3 separate regions of the Homo sapiens genome follow, and all the other regions are linked to region 3. Evidence: promoter capture Hi-C in 16 types of primary human blood cells and fetal thymus (Javierre and others, 2016). All regions are on one chromosome and are shown on one strand. The core of a region is centred on a gene start or on the middle of the fragment in contact, and the rest is flanking DNA. Distances in the headings are between cores, read along the strand shown. Region 1 holds the start of PCDHGC4 (protocadherin gamma subfamily C, 4). Region 2 overlaps PCDHGA1 (protocadherin gamma subfamily A, 1). Region 3 holds the start of PCDHB15 (protocadherin beta 15).

The links. The method cuts DNA at HindIII sites, captures the fragments that hold promoters and counts their contacts. A CHiCAGO score of 5 or more calls a contact.
Region 1: the fragment with the promoter of PCDHGC4 here is called in contact with the fragment with the promoter of PCDHB15 in region 3 in 3 of 17 cell types (naive B cells, total B cells and total CD4 T cells); the score reaches 6.3 in naive B cells.
Region 2: a fragment that was not itself captured here is called in contact with the fragment with the promoter of PCDHB15 in region 3 in 1 of 17 cell types (fetal thymus); the score reaches 6.4 in fetal thymus.

What each region holds. Positions count from the first base shown.
Region 1 is chr5:141,483,583-141,486,495 of GRCh38, reverse strand. It overlaps PCDHGC4 (protocadherin gamma subfamily C, 4), which reads right to left and starts at 1,466. Exons shown (of 4, transcript NM_018928.3): 1 at 1-1,466. The coding sequence starts at 1,322. The region is part of intron 1 of PCDHGA1 (protocadherin gamma subfamily A, 1); the gene reads right to left. The region is part of intron 1 of PCDHGA2 (protocadherin gamma subfamily A, 2); the gene reads right to left. All of the region lies in intron 1 of PCDHGA3 (protocadherin gamma subfamily A, 3), which reads right to left. It also overlaps PCDHGB1, PCDHGA4, PCDHGB2, PCDHGA5, PCDHGB3 and PCDHGA6, and 12 more genes. RefSeq lists a silencer at 1,368-1,595. The HindIII fragment of the contact is 2,008 bases long and covers 422-2,429 here.
Region 2 is chr5:141,426,301-141,429,288 of GRCh38, reverse strand. All of the region lies in intron 1 of PCDHGA1 (protocadherin gamma subfamily A, 1), which reads right to left. The region is part of intron 1 of PCDHGA2 (protocadherin gamma subfamily A, 2); the gene reads right to left. All of the region lies in intron 1 of PCDHGA3 (protocadherin gamma subfamily A, 3), which reads right to left. The region is part of intron 1 of PCDHGB1 (protocadherin gamma subfamily B, 1); the gene reads right to left. It also overlaps PCDHGA4, PCDHGB2, PCDHGA5, PCDHGB3, PCDHGA6 and PCDHGA7, and 10 more genes. Among named protein-coding and RNA genes, the nearest start is that of PCDHGA12, 2.7 kb to the left of the region's middle. The HindIII fragment of the contact is 1,107 bases long and covers 697-1,803 here.
Region 3 is chr5:141,243,990-141,246,689 of GRCh38, reverse strand. PCDHB15 (protocadherin beta 15) reads right to left here and starts at 1,295. Exons shown (of 1, transcript NM_018935.4): 1 at 1-1,295. The coding sequence starts at 1,111. It also overlaps PCDHB@ and the pseudogene PCDHB19P. The HindIII fragment of the contact is 5,789 bases long and covers 1-2,700 here.

The DNA.
Region 1 (2,913 bases), core at 217-2,716, 240 kb before region 3:
ATAGTTCTGTGGGTACTGAGAGGAGGGTTCCCAGCATCAGAAGCAGTGACCATGATGTCATAGCTAGATTTGGCCTCTCGATCCAAGGGTCCAGCAGTCACCAGGGAGAACTGGTTCCTGAAGGCAGACTTGAGGGCAAATGGCAAGTGGTCAGGAATGCGGAGGCTCACATCTCCGTTTGACCCTGAGTCTGGATCCTGCACACTGATAAGTGCCACCACAGTGCCAGGTTCTGCACTCTCGGGGAGGGTTCCAAGCTCTGAGGTCACTGTGATGTAAGGGGCATTGTCATTTACGTCCAGCAGATCCACTCGAAGGCTGCAATGTTGCTCCATGGCTGGAGAACCCCCATCGCGAGCCCGCACATCAAATTCATAGTAATTCTCACTCTCAAAGTCTAGGGGCCCCAAAAGAGTAAGCTTTCCAGTAGTGGGGTGCAGGCTAAAGAGGTTTCTTACACGATCAGGGGTATGACCACTGAAATAAAAGGTGACGTTACCACTGGGACCCAGGTCCGGGTCTGAGGCATTGAGCTGGATGAGCACCATGCCCGCTGGTGCGCTCTCCAACACACTAATCCTGTAGCTGGATTGCTGGAAGGCTGGGGCGTTGTCGTTTACGTCCAGCACGGATACCCGGAGCTCTGCGGTGCCAGATCTCGGCGGGTTCCCTCCATCGACAGCAGTCAGCACCAGGCGGTAGTCCGATTGCTTCTCTCGATCCAAAGGCTTCTCCAGGAGCAGCTCTGGGACCAGGCTGCCGTCGCTGCGCTTCTTCACATCCAGTGCAAAGTGTTCATTGGAGCTCAGCCTATAGCTGCTAATCGAATTGCTCCCCACATCTGCATCCTGAGCCTTTTCCAACGGGAAACGCTGTCCTGGAGGAGCTGCCTCCCCAATTTCCAAGTCCAGCTGCTGCCGCGGAAAACGGGGGGCGTGATCATTCACATCTACGATCTCTACCTCTGCTCGGTACATTTCCAAAGGACCTTCGGTGACAAACTCCAGGGGCACGATGCAGCTGGCACTGAGCCCACACAGTGCCTCTCGGTCGATTGGGTTCTTGATGAGCAGGGCTCCGCTGTCCAAATCCACACGGAAGTGTCTTTGGTTCACCTCTCCAGCGACCTGCAGCCTGCGAGCTGACAGACTGTCCGTATCCAGCAGGAAATCTTGAGCGACATTCCCTACAAAAGTCCCTTCCTGTGACTCCTCTGGGACCGGGTAGCGGATCTGCCCACAAACGTAACCCAGGTGGTAAAAGAGGAACAAAAGGGTAGCCCACCGCCAGATTTCTGTCCAGCTTCTCACCTTGCGGAGCATTGCTGCCGCCCGCTAATTCTCTACTTGCTCCTGAGACGCGGATGAAGCCGACCCGCCCCAAACAGCCACAGCAGCTGGAGACACCTATCTCCCTTTCCCCGCGCCAGCTCTGGCGCGGTTCGGCCGGCGCCGCAAGGGTTACGCGCCGTTTTTGCTGGTGGCGGGGTAGATTTGTCTGCCTTTCACCACCCGATTGGCAGACAGCGGCTCCCGGGCTCAGCCAATAGGCTGAGCAGAGAACGTCCCAACAGCAGCAGGGTTAATGCGTCGCAGCATTGGAGGGGAAAAAGCCCACCCTATCCTCCACGCTCCCCCACCCCCCAAAAAACCCAGCCTATCTTTTCGCCTTCCTCCCGCTCAACGGCATGTTTTTCCACGGGTTGTTATCTCTGTGGGGAGGCAGACAACATATATATATATATACATTTTTTTTCCTAACACACCGACTGACCCCGCCCCTTTTCGGCGGGGAAAACAGCCACAGCCTGAGCCCTAGCAACCTGCGGCCCACTGAGAGGGAGAGTAGCCATTGGAGAGTGGTCACTTTGTTCAAGCCAGTGTTGTCATCAACCAGTATTCTAAATGAGTAGCTTCCGTCTCAGTCTGATTGTATTGGAGCAACTGCTAATTAGAACCACTGCCATATACTCAAAACTCTGCCCTTCTGCAGAATATTCAGAAACGGATCCATCTCTTTGCAGAAAAGGCTTACACATTAACGTAGCCAATTAAATTTATGCAGTACATGTTCTCATTGTAACAGGAGACACAGCGGAAACCAAACCTTTCTTATTCAGACATTTGCTAGTGATACACTAGATACACTAAATTACCATTCATTGATTTCAAGGACAGTATGGAAGCGGGGTGGAGGAAGCCAGGAGAGGGAGATGTTTCAAAACAGTAAAGAATCAGTGTGTCTGGGAGGTGCTAAGGACCAGATCTCTTTACCTGGCAGAATGCTAATGTTCATAGATTTAATAGCTTCCTTGAATGATTGAGATCAGCTACCAACAGCATTGTGCCTACAAATTCCCTTTATCTGACACCAAGGTATTCTTGATCTTTTGTTAATTACCAACGAAGACCATTTCAAAAGAGCAAGCTTTTCACTTAGCCCCAGGGGACCTCTTGGAGCTGGAGACTTGATCTCACCCCACCCCCACCCTCATCCAGACCTCCCAGCAACCTAGCTACTCCCTTGCACAAGCACAGAAACACAACACAATTCACACCGTAGGTACCTACGACCTGCAATCTGAGTGGGAAACACACCAGAGCTCAGAGAAATAGAAAAATCCATCCTGATCTGGACATGAAATTTCTTAATTCAACCAAGTCCTTACCTAGGTTACACTGGCTGCCAAAAAAAGCAGCAACAACTGGAGTTCTTATCCTTCCCCAATATTTTTCCAAGCCTCGATCCTCAGGAATATCCTTTTGACTATGGTGGGAACCAATATTCTGGTGTCAAAAAGAGGAATCTGGCTTTCTGTGTTCTTTTACACACACACACACACACACAAACACACACCCCTCTATACCTTCTCCCATGGGAATGATGGAGGTGTAAACCAGCCTGACCTATTAG
Region 2 (2,988 bases), core at 1-2,500, 180 kb before region 3:
CCAAGAAACATCACAGGAAAAAAATTTATTCCTCAATTAAAATATCTCAATGACAGCAGTATCATAATACCCACTTTTCACACGTGTGTGTGTGTGTGTGTGTGTGTGTGTGTGTGTGTATAAACAATGTCTCCGGGCCGGGTGCAGTGGCTCACGCCTATAATCCCAGCACTTTGGGAGGCCGAGGCGGGCAGATCACGAGGTCAGGAAATCGAGACCATCCTGGCTAACACGGTGAAACCCCGTCTGTACTAAAAATGCAAAAAATTAGCCGGGCGTGGTGGCGGGCGCCTGTAGTCCCAGCTACCCGGGAGGCTGAGGCGGGAGAATGGCCAGAACCCGGAAGGCAGAGCTTGCAGTGAGCCGAGATCATGCCACTGCACTCCAGCCTGGACCACAGAGCGAGACTCCGTCCAAAAAAAAAAAAAGTCTCCCGTAAAAATGGTGAAAATGTTTCAAAAATACATGAAAGCTAATAATGAAGTTACTGGCCCACACAGAAAGGAACAGGAAATATTAAGAGTGGGCAAACAAACCTGAAGCAATAGTAGATATAATATGTTTAAGATTTTCTTGCCAAAATATTGGTTTGAAAATTAAACCTCATCCATTTGTAAATGAAAGACATTCATTGGAACTCACGTGAGTAGGAGCAACAGAGTTAGAGCTTATCTTGTTATTCTCTTCAGTGAAGCTTGCTACCAGAGAAACTTCATTAGAAAGATCTTGTGGGGGGACTGTTTCTGGTGTCATGGTGAGAAAATTAAATCTTCTTTTTCTAGAATCCGAGGGAACATACAGATTGCAGGAATAAAGCAAAGTTCCCTCATTGTAGTTGGGAAAAACCCCTGGTCTAGTCTTAGAACAGAGACCAGGGTGAAAGCAACCCCAGGCAGAGGGGCTGGAAGAGCATCGCAGGTGCAAGGCGACCGCCAAAATCACTGCGAGGAAGAAGAGCATAGAAATCAAGGCCAAGGCCACGACCAGGTAAATCTGCAGCTTTGCTTGGGAATCAGAGGGCACAGGACTGTCACTGAAGTCTGGCAGTGCCTCCTGCAGGCTGTCTGCGAAGACTAGGTGAAGCGTAGCGGCGCAGAGAGCGGCGGCTGTCCTCCGTCACGCACAGCAACCAGCAGGTTCCCGTGTGCAGCCCCAGGCTGAAAAGCCCGGGCTCGATGGCCTGCAGCACGTGGTAGGACAGCCAAGCGTTGTGTCCCGAATCTGCGTCCACCGCCACCACCTTGGTCACCAGGTAGCCGGACTCTGCGGCGCGTGGCACTATATCGAAGAGTGCGGAGCCATCGGGCCCCAGCGCGGGGTACAGCACCCGCGGCACATTGTCATTGAGGTCGCCCACCAACATGCGCCGGCTCATGTTGGCGCTGAGCGCGGGCGAGCCCTGGTCGTGGGCCTGCATCGTGAGCTCGAAGGCGCACAGCTGCTCGTGGTCGAAGGCACGCTGCGCGACCACCACCCCGCTCTGTGCGCTCACGGACACGTAGGACGACAGTGCCCGCAGCTCCAAGTCAGTGGTAACGATGGAGTAGGAGACTTGGCCATTCAGCCCTAGGTCCAGGTCAGAGGCGCTGACTTGTGGGATGGAGGCTCCGGGAAGGTTGTTTTCGGCCACGTGGACCACGTAGGAGACTTGGTGGAAAACCGGAGCATTGTCGTTGACTTCACCAATGCGTAGGGTGAGGCTTGTGCTGGATGAGAGCGGAGGCTTGCCCTTGTCAGTGGCAGTGATGGTGACGTTGTACTCCGGGATCCGCTCCCAATCCAGGGTCCCATCTGTTACAAGCTTATAGTCATTATTGGCGGAAGATTCGATTCTAAAAGGAACTCTTTCGTTTATGAGGCATGTAACCTCCCCATTTTCTCTCGAATCTTTATCATGTGTTTTGAACAGAGTGATCACCGTCCAGGGTTCTGCGTCCTCAGTTACAGAACTGGACACTGAAGTAAAAACCACGTCTGGGGCATTGTCATTCTCATCTAGGATTTCTAGTATAATTTTACATTCGCTGGTCATGCCTCCACCATCCTTAGCTTCTACTCTCATGGTATAACTGCTACGAAATTCGAAGTCTATTAAGTCTTTGGATTTAATTTCCCCATTTTGATGGTCTAGCACAAACATATTTCCAATATCATCTCGTAGGGATTTGAAAGAGTAGGTGATCTCCGCATTGACACCCTCATCCTGGTCAGTGGCTGTCACCTTTAGTACAGAGGTGCCTGGGGGCACATTCTCTCTAAGGCTGACTTTGTATACATCCTGGCTAAAAACTGGGGCATTATCGTTGGCATCAGTGACCTCAATTTGAATTGCAGCAGTGCCAGTTGGGACTGGGTCACCCATGTCCATTGCTTCCAGGACCAGGAGATGAGAGCTCTGTTGCTCCTGGCCCAGGGGCTTCTCCAGCACTAATTCTGGAGCGTTCTTGCCTTTAGTCTTGTCCATCATCAGAGAGAAATGTTCATTAGAACTGAGCTGGTAACTCTGGAGAGAGTGAGGCCCTACATCTGCATCTATAGCAGATTCCAGGCCAAACCGAATGCCTGGAATTGCTAGTTCATTGATTTGTAAAACAATGCTATTTTGGGGAAAATGAGGTGGGTTATCATTTATATCTTCTATCATCACATTTATGTGAAAAACATTTAGAGGATTCTCTGCTACAATCTCTAAGGGTATGACACAGAGGATTTTGAAGACAGTGACTCTCGATCTATTCTGTCACTCACAAGTATGTTCCCATTCTCCGTGTTCACGGTAAAGTATTGTTTCTCTGCACTAACTCTAAGGTTTCAGGTCAATAAATCCTGAACATGCAGCCGCATGTCCTCCGCAAGGTTCCCCACCACGGAGCCCTGGACCGTTTCTTCTGGAATAGAGTAGCGGATCTGCTCCGAGGGTGCCCCGCAGAACAAAGGCAGCAGGAAAGGGAAGAGTGCTTGCCACTGCCGGGTCCTGCTTCTCTGCTT
Region 3 (2,700 bases), core at 46-2,545:
TAATCCTAAACAGGGCCACTTCTGTCTCTGGAGAATTCTCGGGAATAGGGCTGGTAAGTGATGAAATACTTAGTTCCGGGAAGTTATCGTTAACATCCAGCACCTTAACAGAGACAGAGCATTTTCCAGAAAGTCCCCCGCCATCAGATGCCTCTATATCTAGATCATACGAAGACATTGTCTCAAAATCTAGTTTTTTAATTAGTCGAATTTCTCCTGAAAGGCTGCTTAGCTCAAAAGGTTTGTCTATCTCCTGAGAGCTGTAATAAAGGGAGTATGATATCTCTCCATTTGTCCCAGTGTCTAAATCCCTAGCAGAGACCTTGACAACTAGGGAGCCTACTGGGCTGTTCTCTGGGACCTGCACCTCGTAGAGCGCCTGCACAAACTCCGGGGCATTGTCATTGGCGTCCAAGACCAAGATGAGGATCTGGACGGTGCCAGATCGGGGTGGAGAGCCACCGTCCACCGCTGTCAAGGTTAATCTGAGCTCGGCCTGCTCCTCGCGATCCAGTTCTGTGTCCAGCACCAGCTCTGGGTATTTCCTGCCATCCCCTCGGGTGCGAGTGGAAACATGGAAATGAGAATTGGGAGAAATATTGTAGTTTTGAACATTATTGCTGCCCACGTCCAAGTCCCGAGCTTTTTTCAGAGGAAACACAGTCCCAAGGGAGCTAGTTTCTGGGATTTTCAGGGTCATTTCTCTTTCAGGAAACTCAGGAGAATGATCGTTTATGTCTGTCACTAGTAGTTCAGCTCGAAATACTTCCAAAGGTTTTTTCAGTAACACTTGGAAATGCATTATACAGGGCTCAGTAGGGCCACACAGCTTCTCCCGGTCCAGCTTCTCATTTAATATCAACTGCCCGGTCTGCAGATCAAGCTGCAAGCCTTGTTCGTTATCCTCAGAAACTACCCGGGCTCCCCGCTCGGCTAGCTCCCCCACTCCCAGCCCTAGGTCATTGGCCAGGTTGGCTACAAAAGAACCTCTCTCTGTTTCCTCCATCACAGAATAGCGACGGGGTTCCCAGCCTGCCAGAGTCACTTCCAGTAAAAGAAGGAGAATCAGGACTTGCCTTTGTTCGGGAAAGCGCTCCCCTGCAGGCTCCATCTTTACTTCTGTACACGCCCCTTTCAAGGAACCGGAGTCAGAGCTACTTCAGGGAGCGATGGGACAGAGGCAGTGATCGATCTGTGCGTTGATAACCTGTTCGGAAATGTAGGAGAATAGCATTCTCCGGAGACACTGGTCCGTGCTCTGCTAACAGGCTTTCCTCTTAGGCTGAAAGAGGTCTGAAGTAGCTAGTAGCATTTCATGGGCTTTTTCCTTTTCCTTTTTTTGAAGCCTTAGCCTGCAGCGCCACCATGCGTTGTCTTTGCTTCGAAACGAATTGCTACAATTGATCTATTCTCTATTCTATTAGGAGTTTGGAAATTGGGAGGAAATGATGTAATCACAATATCACGCAATGGTAATTATTAATTTCTTCATTTAAAGGAGTATTATTGGTCTCTATGTGCCAAATTATGAAATACATCAGTAAACAACCCAGACATGGTCCCCACCCTCCAGAGCCTGTAGTCTGGGTGTAGTGTTCTGAGGGAAATTGAGAAGTGAAAGAAGACATAATAGTGATCAGTCATCTTGTAATAATAATAACATAAAGCCACGTGATTTCTTAAAAATTTATCAGCAAAACAAAATGAATTCTTTAATTTCTTTCAAATTCTAGACAGCCTATGTACCAGAATTGTGCTCCCATTGGTTGGATTACATCAAGAAAAAGCTACACGTTAATTCCAGTGTGGTATCCTTTCTACATAAAGTCAGAGAGTTATGATTTTATGAAAATTTTAAACTGTGGAAAAATACATATGAAGGCACTTCCTATATCTCTTACTTTGCTTTTTCTTTTTTTTCTTTTCATTTTTCCTTTTTTTTTTTTTGAGATGGGGTCTTGCTCTGTTGTCCAGGAGGGAGTGCAGTGGCACAATCACTGCTCATTGCAGCCTTGACTACCCAGGCTCAAGCAATCCCCCCACCTCAGCAACTGTAGCTGGGACCACAGTTGCGCATCACCATGCCTGGCTAATGTTTTAATTATTTGTAAAGATGAGGTCTTGCTATGTTGCCCGGGCTGGTCTCAAATTTCCGAGCTCAAGCAATCCTCCTGCCTCAGCCTCCCAAAGTGCTGGGGTTATAGGCATGAGCTGCTGTACCCAGCCCTGCCTTGTCTCTCTCGTATTTATTATCTGACGTAGTATAGATGTACTTATTTAGTTGTTTCCTTTCTGTTTCAACCTCACATGTTAGAACTTCATTTTGTTCACTGCTGCATCCCCAATATCTAAAATAATCCCTGGCACATGGTACGTGCTCAATAAATATTTGTTAAATGGATCCATTAATAAATCACAATTAATTTAAACATTCTGACAGATAGGTTCTCCTCCTACTGTAGAAATTCCCTCTTCTTCTGGGATTCAAGTTCATTATATAAGATGGATAAACAAAGACAACATGTTCATAAGGTAGCTATTTCCTATGCCCTTTAAATAGTAATGTGAAATAACTCAGAATGACCTAAAATGTCATTTCATTAAGTGGCAAAACAACTTAGCTACCCATAAGCAAGGGATATATTATATGACAGAAAGAAAGAACATAACAAGATTATGATGACCCTAAAGATAAGGATT